Linked DNA regions of Homo sapiens: region 1 is linked to region 2. The links are contacts of gene promoters, found by promoter capture Hi-C in blood cells and fetal thymus (Javierre and others, 2016). All regions are on one chromosome and are shown on one strand. Each heading gives the region's core, a stretch centred on a gene start or on the middle of the fragment in contact. The rest is flanking DNA. Distances are from core to core; before and after follow the strand shown.

Region 1 (6,103 bases), core at 2,962-5,461, 220 kb after region 2:
CAGCCTGGAAAGAGGAACGCACAGGGCCTGCCACGCCTGGTCCAAGGTAGGGGAGGAATGTGGGCCGAAAGAGGGAGTGCCAGTGCTTAATAATTAATGGCTTTTTCTTTCTTTTTTTCTTTTTTTGAGACAGAGTCTCACTCTGTCGCCCAGGCTGGAGTGCAGTGGCGCGATCTTGGCTCACTGCAAGCTCTGCCTCCCGGGTTCACACCATTCTCCTGCATCAGCCTCCCGAGTAGCTGGGACTACAGGCGCCCGCCACCGCGCCCGGCTAATTTTTTGTATTTTTAGTAGAGACGGGGTTTCACTGTGTTAGCCAGGATGGTTTCGATCTCCTGATGTTGTGATCCATCCGCCTCGGCCTCCCAAAGTGCTGGGATTACAGGCGTGAGCCACCGTGCCCGGCTCTTTCTAGGCTTTTTTTTTTTTTTTTTTTAAAGACAGAGTTTGCTCTTGTTGCCCAGGCTGGAGTGCAATGGCGCTAGCTATCTCAGCTCACTGCAACCTCTGCCTCCTGGGTTCAAGAGATTCTCCTGGCTCAGCCTCCTGAGTAGCTGGGATTACAGGCATGTGCCACCACGCCTGGCTAATTTTGTATTTTTAGTAGAGACGGGGTTTCTCCATGTTGGTCAGGCTAGTCTCGAACTCCCGACCTCAGGTGATCCGCCCGCCTTGGCCTCCCAAAGTGCTGGGATTACAGGTGTGAGCTGCTGTGCCCAGCTGGCTTTTTCTATTTTTATAAATGCTCGTGGCAGTGGGCAGAGGGAACACAGCGAGAATCTAGGACCTCACTTGTCCCACGGCTGCTTTCCACCAGGACAGAGCATCAAAGCCAAACAGGATCTCTACAGTCAAGCTTCTGGAAAGTGGAATCAGGGCCTGCCCTTTGGGCAGGAGGAAACAGACAGGAGGGAAGACCAGGTGGCTGGCTGAGAAAACCATTTCTGGGCCACTCACAGGCAACCAGGGAGCAGCTGGGTGGAAGAGAATTTGTGGGTTGGGAGATGCAACAGGCCTTTGACACCCAATATGGCTGGCCTTTGGCCCGTGCTCCGTCCCACCATCCAGCTCTCCATGCCTGGCCCCTGGGGCACAGGGCGGGCAGGGCCCACGGGAATGCCCCACAGAACCCGTGTCTGATGCTTCCTTCAGCCCCTCCCTCCCTATTTTCCAGCCTTCTCATGTCGCTCCATGACTTGGTACAAGCATCGCTTCCCCCTGGAATGCCTTCTTCCCTCCCTCTCCTGGGGAGCCTCCAGCTCAAAAGGGCCTTGGCATAAACCTTTCTAAGTCTCTGCTGTCCCCGTTGCTGGGCCTACAGCTGCAGAACCCCTCACTCTGACGCCATTGTGAGTTTGGTCCTATTTCTGTCTTCTCTAATGTAACGTGGAGTCCTCTGAGGGCAGAGATTATGTCCTCAGGCTCAGCACAGTACCTGGCCCACAGTAAGCAGACATCCAGCTTTTGGCAGGAAGCTCCAGTTTATTCTGTCTCATTTCTGCTTTCCCTCCTGGTTCCTGGCCTTTGGCTACCATTGGAGCTGCCAGGCCAGGCCAACAGCTGCAGACCAGCAGGGCCAGAGAAGCAGAGGCCTGCCGGGCCCATCCCTCCCGGCAGCCCAGAGCACGGCCACCCAGCGCAGCTGGAGTCTCAGATCCTTCTCTCTCTCAAGAAGCTGCACATCTCTGCGCATCTCCCACCTCTATGCCCTGGCTCCTTTCCCATTTCTGGGCCAGGAACAGTGCCAAAGCCTTCATTAGGGGTGCAGGAATTAAGTGAGACAGCAACAATATTGGCATCGGCCTCCCTGAAAACCATCTTCTCAAGAACTCAGTTTCTGATCTTTCTTTCTAAGCCTGGCTCTTCCAGGAAGCCCTCCCCACTGCCCATAATACTGTGCCACCAGCCGGGCGTGGTGGCTCACGCCTGTAATCCCAGCACTTCGGGAGGCCAAGGCGGGTGGATCATCTGAGGTCAGGAGTTTGAGAGCAGCCTGGCCAACATGGTGAAACCCTGTCTCTACTAAAAATACAAAAATTAGCCAGGTGTGGTCCCAGCTACTCAGGAGGCTGAGGCAGGAGAATCACTTGAACCCGGGAGATGGAGGTTGCAGTGAGCTGAGATCGCACCATTACACTCCAACCTGGGTGACAGAGGGAGACTCTGTCTGAAAATAAATAAATAAATAAATAAAAAGAAAAAAGAAAAAAATACTGTGCCACCTACACTTAGTTACAAGCCTGCCTCCTTCACCTGCCAGGGTATACCTTCAGGGTCAGGGCTGTGACTATTCCTAGCTCCCAGGATGGTGTCTGGTACTTAAGGGGAGCCTAATAGGTGTTCATGGAAAAATTTACTGCCCAGGATGGGAGAGGGGGTTGTCACAATGTGTGGATGTGTGTGTGTGTGTGTGTGTGTGTGTGTGTGTGTGTTTGAGAGGAGCTGTATCTCATTTCAGCCAAGGAGGCTGAGGCCAGAGTCCAGGGCACAGACCATGGCAGGGCCTAGTCCAGCATCCCCAGTCCCACCCTGGTCCCCCTGAGGCTATGATTAACCCTTGTCCTCAGCACAAGGACAGAGCCTCATCTGCCAGCCAGTCTTGGCCATGTGGGGAAGTAGGTCAGGGGCTTCAGAATCCGGATAGCTGCTGCACATCAGGGCAAAGCCAGCCCTCTGGAGCCTTGTGGATGGAGACCAGGGTGTGGGCACACCACAGCAGGCCACAATGGCACAAACTGCAGCAGACTTATGTCCACACCCCCCAGCTTGCTGGAGGCCATGGGAAGGTCACTTCTCCCTGGACATGTTTCCTCGCCCCTTCCAGCTCTCACCATCCAAGAAGGAGGCATCTTAGGGGAGGAGAGGATAGAACTGACTCCACTCCAGCAGGCCTCCTCTTCCTTTCTGTCCCAACAGCCCCACCCCCCACTCCCAGTGATGTCATTTCGGCCACCTCATCACCAGCTTCTAACCCCCTTCCAGTCGCCCTTTCTGTCCTCAGATGGCAACTGGGGGCAGCGGAGATGTATCCCTCTTTATTCGGTCTCTCGCCTGGCACACTGGCCGGGATTCCCGAACCTGACCCCCTCCAAACCATGAGCCATTTGCAAGGGGACCGGGCAGGGGAGGGCTAAGCGACTCCTGACTCTCGAAGGCAGATGGGAGACTTGACTTTCTGCTTCTTCACCAGCAAAGACGCGGTACCACTTCTCCCTGAGTAGGAAGCGAGTTAGGGAAACTTTCTAGGAGTCTTAGAGCTCATAATTCCTGTCAGGGACGGGTGCTGCTGGATTTGGCGTGAGATAACTTCCCTCTACACACAAGCCACCCTCCCAGCAAAACATGACGAAGGAGCCGCCTCCCGGCCTCAGAAGACTCCTAGCTAGCGCTCAGGCCCCGTAACAATACCAGGGGCGGCCGAGCAGTTGCTGCCTCCAGGACGGGGTGGGCGAGCTGGATGACGGATGCCCGGTCGTCTGGGAAAATAGGAAGACCGCCCCCCGCCCCCCACTTTTGCAGGTCTCCGCCCGTCCGGTCCGCGTCTTCTCCGGCAGCGCCCCCTCTCTCCACGTCCCGGTTCTCCAGACGCGTCCCTCCTCCGAGTCGGGCGCGCCCGGTCCAGCCCAGCCCCTCCCGGGGTGATAGCGCCCAACAATGGAGAAGCGGACAGGGGTCACCGGGCGCTCCCCGCCTTCCTGTCCCGGTCGCCCCCGCGCTCACCCTGCTCCAGGTCCTGCTGGTCGTACCAGGACTCCTCTTCCTCCGCGGAGAAGTCCTCCATCCCGGCGGCTCTCCGCATGGCCCCGCGGGCGGCGGGCGGGTGCTGCGGCGGCGCAGCTCAGGGCCGGTGCGCGCGGCCCGGGACAATGCGGCTGAGGCGGGCCGGGCCTCCAGCGTCGGGAACTCGGGCTACAGAGCCCGCGCCGCGCCCCCTCGCCATCAACCGCTCGCCGGGAGCCCACGCGGGGCCTGGCGCTTTGCCAGGGTCCGGCCCGGCCGGGGTCCCGCAGAGCCGGGGGCACCGGGCTGCGGCGACACAAAGGGTGGAGTGGCAGGGACGGCGGGTGGGACAGTGGCAAGGAGGATCCGGGCCCGCAGGCGGGTCTGGGGCGCTAGGAGCGCGCGGGTGCCGTGGCGGGCGCCCCCTGCCCGGCTCGGGTCCGCGCTGCTCCTGGCCCGCCCGGCGACAACCGGAGCCGCCGCTGCATCTTGGCGGAGCCCGCCTGCAGCTTGCGGAGCTCGGCTCCGCGGGGTGGGGCCTGCCGCCGCCGACCAATCAGGAGATGTATGCAAAGCTGGAGGCGGGGCCGAGGGCGGGACCCTCCTGGTGTCTTGGTCTGGGAATTGCTTGATCAACCCTTTCGTCCTACTTCCCCCTACGACCTATTCAGTTTATGTCTCATGTCTAAAATTATGCTATTTTAGAAGTTGTCGTCTCTCCTAGATCTCCTGGAAGCAAGAATATTGTTTCTCTTTCACAGCTGGCTACTCACTTCCTAGAACAGGCTGCTCACCAGTCGGGCGCGATGCCTGACTCCTGTAATTCCAGCACCTTGGGAGGCCAAGGCGGGCAGATCGCCTGAGGTCAGGGGTTTCGAGACCAGCCTGGCCAACATGGCGAAACCCCGTCTCCATTAAAAATACAAAAATTAGCTGGGCATGGTGGCGCATGCCTACTCGGGAGGCTGAGGCAGGAGAATCGCTTGAACCCTGGAGGCAGAGGTTGCAGTGAGCCAAGATAGCGCCACTGCACTCCAGCCTGGGCGACAGAGGGAGACTCTGCCTCAAAAAACAAACAAACAAAAAACAAACAACATGCTGGTCATTGATACCTTCCATCGACATTCTTTGAATGAATGAATACTAATTTACAGTTGCCTTTGGGAACTGCGTGTTTAAGTGCTTGTGGCTAGAAACCACAGGCTGAAAGTGGCAAAGTTTGAGGGTGTGTTACCTGCATTCAAGGTTCTGTTTTCCTTTCCTTGGGACCCATATCCTATATCCAATTATACCCATTAAAACTATACACACTTGCATCTGTCCAAGCATTCTTTCCTTAGAAGAGTGTTCGGACTCAAGCATTCACGTAACTCATTTTTATTGGGACCCTAATGTGCTGGTGCCGTTGAGAATCTCTGAATAATGTTGTGATATACCCAACGAATGACTTGTATCCAGAATACAGAAAGAACATCTGCATAGTCATAAGAAAAAGGCACGCAACCCAGTAGAAAAGTGGGTAAAAGATTTGACCAGGTAATTCACAAAAAAGGATACACAAATAACTGAATAAATATGCAACAAGGTACTGAACTTCTTTAGCCATCAGAAAAATGCAAATGAAAACCACAATGAGGTATCACTACCCAATCACCAGAGTGGCTTTAGGGAAAAAAAAAAAAAAAAAAAAGGCCAGGCGTGGTGGTTCATGCCTATAATCCCAGAACTCTGGGGAGGCCGAGGTTGGGAGGATCACTTGAGCCTGGAGTTCAAGAGCAGCCTGGGCAACATAGCAAGATCCTATTTCTATAAAAAAATTTAAAAATAAAAATTAGGTGGGCATAATGACACACGGCTGTAGTCCCAGATACTTTGGGAGGCTGAGGTGGGAGAATTGCTTGAGTCTAGGAGGTTGAGGCTGTAGGGAGCTGTGGTCATGCCACTGCACTCCAGCCTGGGTGACAGAGCAAGATCCTGTCTCAAAAAAAAAAAAAAAAAAAAAAAAAAAAAGACAAAAAATACCTAGTATTGGCAAGAATGTTGAGCAACTGGAACTCTCTCACCCTGCTGGAGGGAATACATAGGACGACAACCACTTTAGAAAACTGCCCGGGCGTGGTGGCTCATGCCTGTAATTCCCAACGCTTTGGAAGGCCAAGGAGGGTGGATCGCTTGAGGTCAGGAGTTCAAGACCAGCCTGGGAAACATGGTGAAACCCTGTCTCTACTAAAAATACAAAATTAGCTGGGCATGGTGGCACATGCCTGTAGTCCTAGCTACTTGGGAGGCTGAGGCAGGAGAATTGCTTGAACCTGGGAGGCGGAAGTTGCAGTGAGCTGAGATTGCGCCACTGCACCCAGCCTGGGCGATAGAGCAAGACTGC
Region 2 (6,156 bases), core at 3,139-5,638:
CACGGTGAAACCCCCTCTCTACTAAAAATACAAAAAATTAGCCCAGCTACTCGGGAGGCTGAGGCAGGAGAATGGCATGAACCTGGGAGGCGGAGCTTGCAGTGAGCCGAGATCGCGCCACTGCATTCCAGCCTGGGCGACAGAGAGAGACTCCGTCTCAAAAAAAAAAAAAAAAAAAAAAAAAAACTTGAGTTTTGCCAGGTGTGGCAGCTCACACCTATAATCCCAGCACTTTGGGAGGCCAAGGCAGGAGGATCACTTGAGCCCAAGAGTTCGAGACCAGCTTTGACAACACAGAGAGACCCTGTCTTTCAAAAAAAAAATGTTGAGTTCAAGAAGTGAGGAGTGTTTATGAGACCGAGCAGTGATCTCACAAGATTACTTCTCCATTTCAGGTGACAACCCCTCAACACAATTTGGTCAGGACATATATGTTCCATAAGAACGGAACATTCAGGGCCAGCACGGTGGCTTACACCTGTAATCCCACCACTTTGGGAGGTCGAGGCGGGTGGATCACTTGAGGTCAAAAGTTCAAGACCAGCCTGGCCAACATGGTGAAACCCCATCTCTACTAAAAATGCAAAAAGTAGCTGGGCTTGGTGTGGCATGCACCTATAATCCCAGCTACTCGGGAGGCTGAGACAGGAGAAATGCTTGAACCCAGGGCACTCCAGCCTGGGTGACAGAGCAAGACTCCATCTCAAAAAAAAAAAAAAGGAACCGAACATTCACTCAAGTATTTAACAAGCACTTCCTTGTGAGCTACACCTTGAAGGGGGCAAGACAATCACTGTCACCCAAAGGAGCTGCCTATCTACCTGAAAAGAAGAGACTTCTGCCATAACAGGAACTGCAAAGCCACCCCAGGTGGGTGCCCAGGACACAGGACACAGTGGTGCTAAAACAATAAAGGTGACTCCCCTTACCTGGCTGCTGAACTGGCGGCCATTGGCTGGATCTTTAGCAGCAACTAACAAAACACAAAACATTTTAAGTGAGCAATGGAACTCTTAGGCTTATTGTCATAGCTGAATATTCCAGGGTCTATGGCTTGAGCCTCTGTTTATTTTAATGAGAAAAATTAAAAGACATTATAATCTCTTTTAATTATGGATTTTTTTGTTGCTGTTAATGCTTCATATCCCTTCAATTCTCAAACCAAAAGCCCTCAAGTTACAAAATGGCACTTTCAACTGCAACACAGCTACCATAAAGGTCTCTGACATGCCAAGCACAGTGGCTCACACCTGTAATCCCGACACTTTGGGAGGCTGATGTCAAAGGACTGCTTGAGCCCAGGAGTTCAAGAACAGCCTGGAAAAATTAGGGAGACCCCGTTTCTACAAATAATTTAAAAATTATCAGAACAAAGTTCTCTGAGGAAAACTGGACAAAAACTGTTTAAATTAGCTGGGCATGGTAGTACACACCTGCAGTCCCAACTACTTGGAAGGATGAGGTAGGAAGATCACTTGAGCCCAGGCGGTGAGCTCATGACTGCAGTGAGCCATAATGTTTCTTTGCACTCCAGCCTGGGCAACCTTGTCTCAAAAAAAAAAAAAAAAAAAAAAAAAAACTCCAGGCACAGTGGCTGACTCCTGTAATCCCAGAACTCTGGGCTTGGTGGTGTACAACTGTAGTCCCAGCTACTCAGGAGGCTGAGGCTAGAGAATCGTTTGAACCTGGGAGGTGGAGGTTGCAGTGACCTGAGTTCATGCCACAGCACCTCAGCCTGGGCGACAGAGCAACACTCGGTCTCAAAAAAAAAAAAAAAAAAAAAAAAAAAAAAAAAAAAAAACAACAACAAAAAAAAAAACCTCTAAATGATTACCAAAAAAGTAAGGATTATGAAAGATGGAAAAATAAGTTTTGGACTGGAATATCAATCAAACTTTACCTCACAGTATTTATGCATAGATAAATACTCAAAATACCCACACACACACACACACACACACGCGCGCACGCGCACACAGTCCTTACTTGCAACCTGGTGCATTTCCTCCATACATGCTCTGATGACTGATCGGTAGTTTTTACTCACTCGAACCAATCTACAAAAAATGAAATAACACACAAGATGAGCCTGGAACATCTTGTAGTGCCACAAAGGAAGGAAACACTCAAATAAATGCAGAAATTTGCTGAAAGAAAGAGGAGAGCCGTTGTGAAGGAGCTCCTAACCTTCTGAAGCTGGAACAACTTGGACAACAAAATAAAACGCCACAAAACAACCCATGGGCTAAAGTTAATATCCACAAACCCATACTGCCATTAATTGTTGCAGATGAAATCTACTGGTCAGACCTTGTCTCAAAAAAATAAAAAAGATACATAAATGTATTTACTGGCCAGGCCCGGTGGCTCAGGCGTGTAATCCCAGCACTTTGGGAGGTGAAAGTGGGCAGATCACCTGAGGTCAGGTGTTTGAGACCAGCCTGGCCAACCTGGTGAAACCCTGTCTCTACTAAAAATACAAAAATCCCAGCTACTCAGGAGGCTGAGGCAGGAGAATCTCTTGAACCCGGCAGGCGGAGGTTGCAGTGAGCCAAGATCATGCCATTGCACTCCAGCCTGGGCGACAGAGTGAGACTCCATCTGAAAAAAAAAAAAAAAGAATAAGACAGGGTCCCCTGCCAGCAAGGAATTACAGGACTTTTGACATGTTTTTTTCCTAGAAGTGACAATAGATTTCTCAAACTCACCAATATTCTCCACTAGAGTCCCTTAAATCCAATAATCAGGCCAGGTGCAGTGGCTCACTCCTATAATCCCAGCACTTTGGGACGCTGAGGTGGGCAGATCACTTGAGGTCAGGAGTTCAAGACCAGCCCAGCCAAAATGATGAAACCCCATCTCTACTAAAAATGCAAAAATTAGCCAGGCGTGGTGGCACGCACCTGTAATCCCAGCTACTCAGGAGGCTGAGGCAGGAGAATGGCTTCAACCCAGGAGGCAGAGGCTGCAGTGGGCCAAGATTGCGCCACTGCACTCCAGCCTGGGTGACAGAGTGAAACTCTGTCTCAAAAAAAAAAAAAAAAACAGGGCCAGGCACAGTGGCTCACGTCTGTAATCCCAGCACTTTGGGAGGCCGAAGCAGGTGGATCACGAGGTCACGAGATCGAGACCATCCTGGCTAACACGGTGAAACCCCGTCTCTACTAAAAATACAAAAAATTAGCCGGATGTGGTGGCAGGCGCCTGTAGTCCCAGCTACTCGGGAGGCTGAGGCAGGAGAATGGCGTGAATCCAGGAGGCAGAGCTTACAGTGAGCGGAGAACGCGTCACTGCACTCCAGCCTGGGTGACAGAGCGAAACTCTGCCTCGAAAAAAAACAGAAAAACAACCAATAATCACTCTTGCACACACTCACACAGAAGCTGACCTGAGTCTTGTCCAGAATGATTCATTTGTGAAAAGCTTATCAAAGAAGTAACATACCAACACTGCCCATTCCCTAGCCATCCATGTGAAGGGACGCTGACAAAAATCTAACACAGGAGTTCTTAAACTTCAGTGTGCTGGAGATTTTAAGATCCAACCACGGAGATTTTGATTTTGATGATCTGAGGTGGGTCCCAAAAGTCTACAATTAACAAGTACCACTCTGATAATGATGAAGTTATGAACTACAATTCAAGAAAATCCTAATCTATAAATAGTACGAGAGTTTTCTGGTCTGTTGTCAAATAACGTCTGAACCATAATTTTTTAGAGACAAAACTGTTAGGTTTATATTAATTTTCAAATCTCCCAACAATGTGACCTCATTCAACGACTCTCACATGCTTGTGTGGCCTAAATTTTCTTCTTTAGAGGCTAAGTAAAATATGAATATAAATAAAGCTTGTCAAGCCAGCCCATCAATAGCATTTGCATATTCCCGCTAAGTCTTCCCATCACTGCTAATGTACACTGTCCAGTACTCATGCCTCAACTAGAACCAGGAGTCTCTTATTTCTTTACGCAACCCATAAAACACACAAAAAGACAACAATGTACTTCATTTGGCTTTCCACAGTGTAGTGTGGGCTTCAACACCAAACAGCAACCAACTTACTGAGATTTTCTGGATTTTCCAGTCAACTCTTCGTCAATTCTCTGGAGGCCCAGAAAGATTCCATGGGATTCATTGAAGAGTTTTCTCAAGATTTGAGAGTAAACATCTACATCCTTACGGATGATATAGATAAAGGGGCAACTTGGCACCATCTCTGATTTTTCTGAAACCAAACAGAAAAAAAAAATTTAACATCTATTATGATCATCTCCAAAAGTGAATCTACTCTAAAAAAATTTTCTGTGGCCGGGCATGGTGGCTCTTGCCTATAATCCCAGCACTTTGGGAGGCCAAGGCAGGCAGATCACGAGGTCAGGAATTCGAGACCAGGCTGGCCAACATAGCAAAACCCTGTCTCTACTAAAAATACAAAAATTAGCTGGGCGTGGTGGCACATGCCTTCATTCCCAGCTACTCAGGAGACTGAGGCAGGAGAATTGCTTCAAACCGGGAGGCGGAGGTGGCAGTGAGCCGAGATCACACCACTGCATTCCAGCCTGGACAGAGCGAGACTCCGTCTCAAAAAAAAAAAAAAAAAAAGAAAGCAAATCAAATGTCAAGATTCCAGTTTTATCCTTCTACTGGAAGGAGACTGTATCACTGTATCAGGAAAAGAAAAAGATTCACATCCTATCCAATAGCTGATGGAACTCAGGAAAATCAAGCCAAGGACAAGCTATGTCACTCTCCAGCTCCATCTGTGCCTTGGATGCTACGGCTCAGCTCAGCCTACAGAACTATTATTCAGCTGAATCCATGCTGTGGACACAAAAGTGACGGCCAAGCATCTGCAAGGTTCACAATAAGGGAGCTACTGATAGGAATTTGGTCACTTTGGACAAAGAAAAAGGGATAAAAAGCTTGACATTTTAAATATGAAGAAAATTTTTCATGAAAACTATTAATTTTTTTCCGGGATTCAACATCTTCAAGATCTCAAAAATCAATGAAAATCTAAAATAGCTAACATTTCAAAAATAAAAATGCCAAAATGCAACAGGATCGCTTGAGGCCAGGAGTGCGAGACCAGCCTAGGCAACAAAATGAGACTCCCATCTCTACAAAGAAAAAAAAATTAGCTGGGCGTGGTGGCATGGTGACCTGTAGTCTCAGCTACTAGGAAGACTGAGGCAGAGGATCACTTGAGCCCAAGAGGTAGAGGCTGCAGTGAGCCATGATCACACTGTACTCCAGCCCAGGTGACACAACAAAACCCTGTTGTATCTTGAAAACAAAATAGAGAAAATTAAAATAGTACAAAATAAATTCAACTGTTTCAGTCCACAACTAGTAAAATCTGAGGTAATAAACAGAAAAACAACCAAATGTGCCAAGATGGATAATTTGGAAGAAAAAAAACCCTACCTTTTTTGTTGAAGGAGGTTTCACATACCAGCATCTCCCCTGGACCCCAGTCAAAATACATTTGGTTCTTCTTGGAATTCACGCCTGGAATCAACTAGTAAAATAAGGCATAGAAATCTAAAATGAAAAATGTTCTTCTTACTGAAGTTGTTCCATTCTTTTTTTTTTTTTTTTTTTTTTGAGACAAAGACTCACTCTAACAGGCTGGTGTACAGTGGTGTAATCTCAGCTTGCTCCAATCGCCGCCTCCTGGGTTCAAAGGCTTCTCCTGCCTCAACCTCCTGAGTAGCTGGGACTACAGGTGTGTGCAACCACACCCGGCTATTTTTTTTTTTTTTTTCATTTTTAGTAGAGATAGAGTTTCACCATATTGCCCAGGCTGGTCACAAACTCCTGAGTTCAGGTGATCCGTCCGCCTCAGCCTCCCAAAGTGCTAGGACTACAGGCGCGAGCCACCGTGCCCGCCCTGCTGAAAAACACTTTAAGTGAAGAGCACAGCTGGTCCTCTAATAACACTGTATCCTTCAATAACATTTCCTTATAACACTGGTAAGAAAAATTCATTTTGGGCCGGCAGCGGGGTGGCTCCTGCCAGCACTTTGGGAGGCTAAGGCGGGCAGATCATCTGAGGTCAGGAGTTCGAACTCTTGTTGCCCAGGCTGGACTGCAGTGACGCAATCTCGACTCACTGCAACCTCTGCCTGCTGGGTTCAAGTGATTCTCCTGCC

What was found. Contacts are between HindIII fragments. The CHiCAGO score rates a contact against its expected background, and 5 or more counts as called.
Region 1: a contact is called between the fragment with the promoter of CDR2L here and a fragment that was not itself captured in region 2, in 3 of 17 cell types (activated CD4 T cells, naive B cells and naive CD4 T cells). The highest score is 6.3, in activated CD4 T cells.

What each region holds. Positions count from the first base shown.
Region 1 is chr17:74,985,740-74,991,842 of GRCh38, reverse strand. It overlaps CDR2L (cerebellar degeneration related protein 2 like), which reads right to left and starts at 4,211. Exons shown (of 5, transcript NM_014603.3): 1 at 3,721-4,211. The coding sequence starts at 3,799. RefSeq lists silencers at 4,116-4,205, 4,226-4,305 and an enhancer at 3,872-4,373. The HindIII fragment of the contact is 10,272 bases long and covers 859-6,103 here.
Region 2 is chr17:75,207,893-75,214,048 of GRCh38, reverse strand. NUP85 (nucleoporin 85) reads right to left here. Exons shown (of 19, transcript NM_024844.5): 2 at 5,429-5,522; 3 at 4,064-4,226; 4 at 1,987-2,057; 5 at 930-973. Among named protein-coding and RNA genes, the nearest start is that of NUP85, 5.3 kb to the right of the region's middle. RefSeq lists an enhancer at 5,704-6,156. The HindIII fragment of the contact is 1,074 bases long and covers 3,852-4,925 here.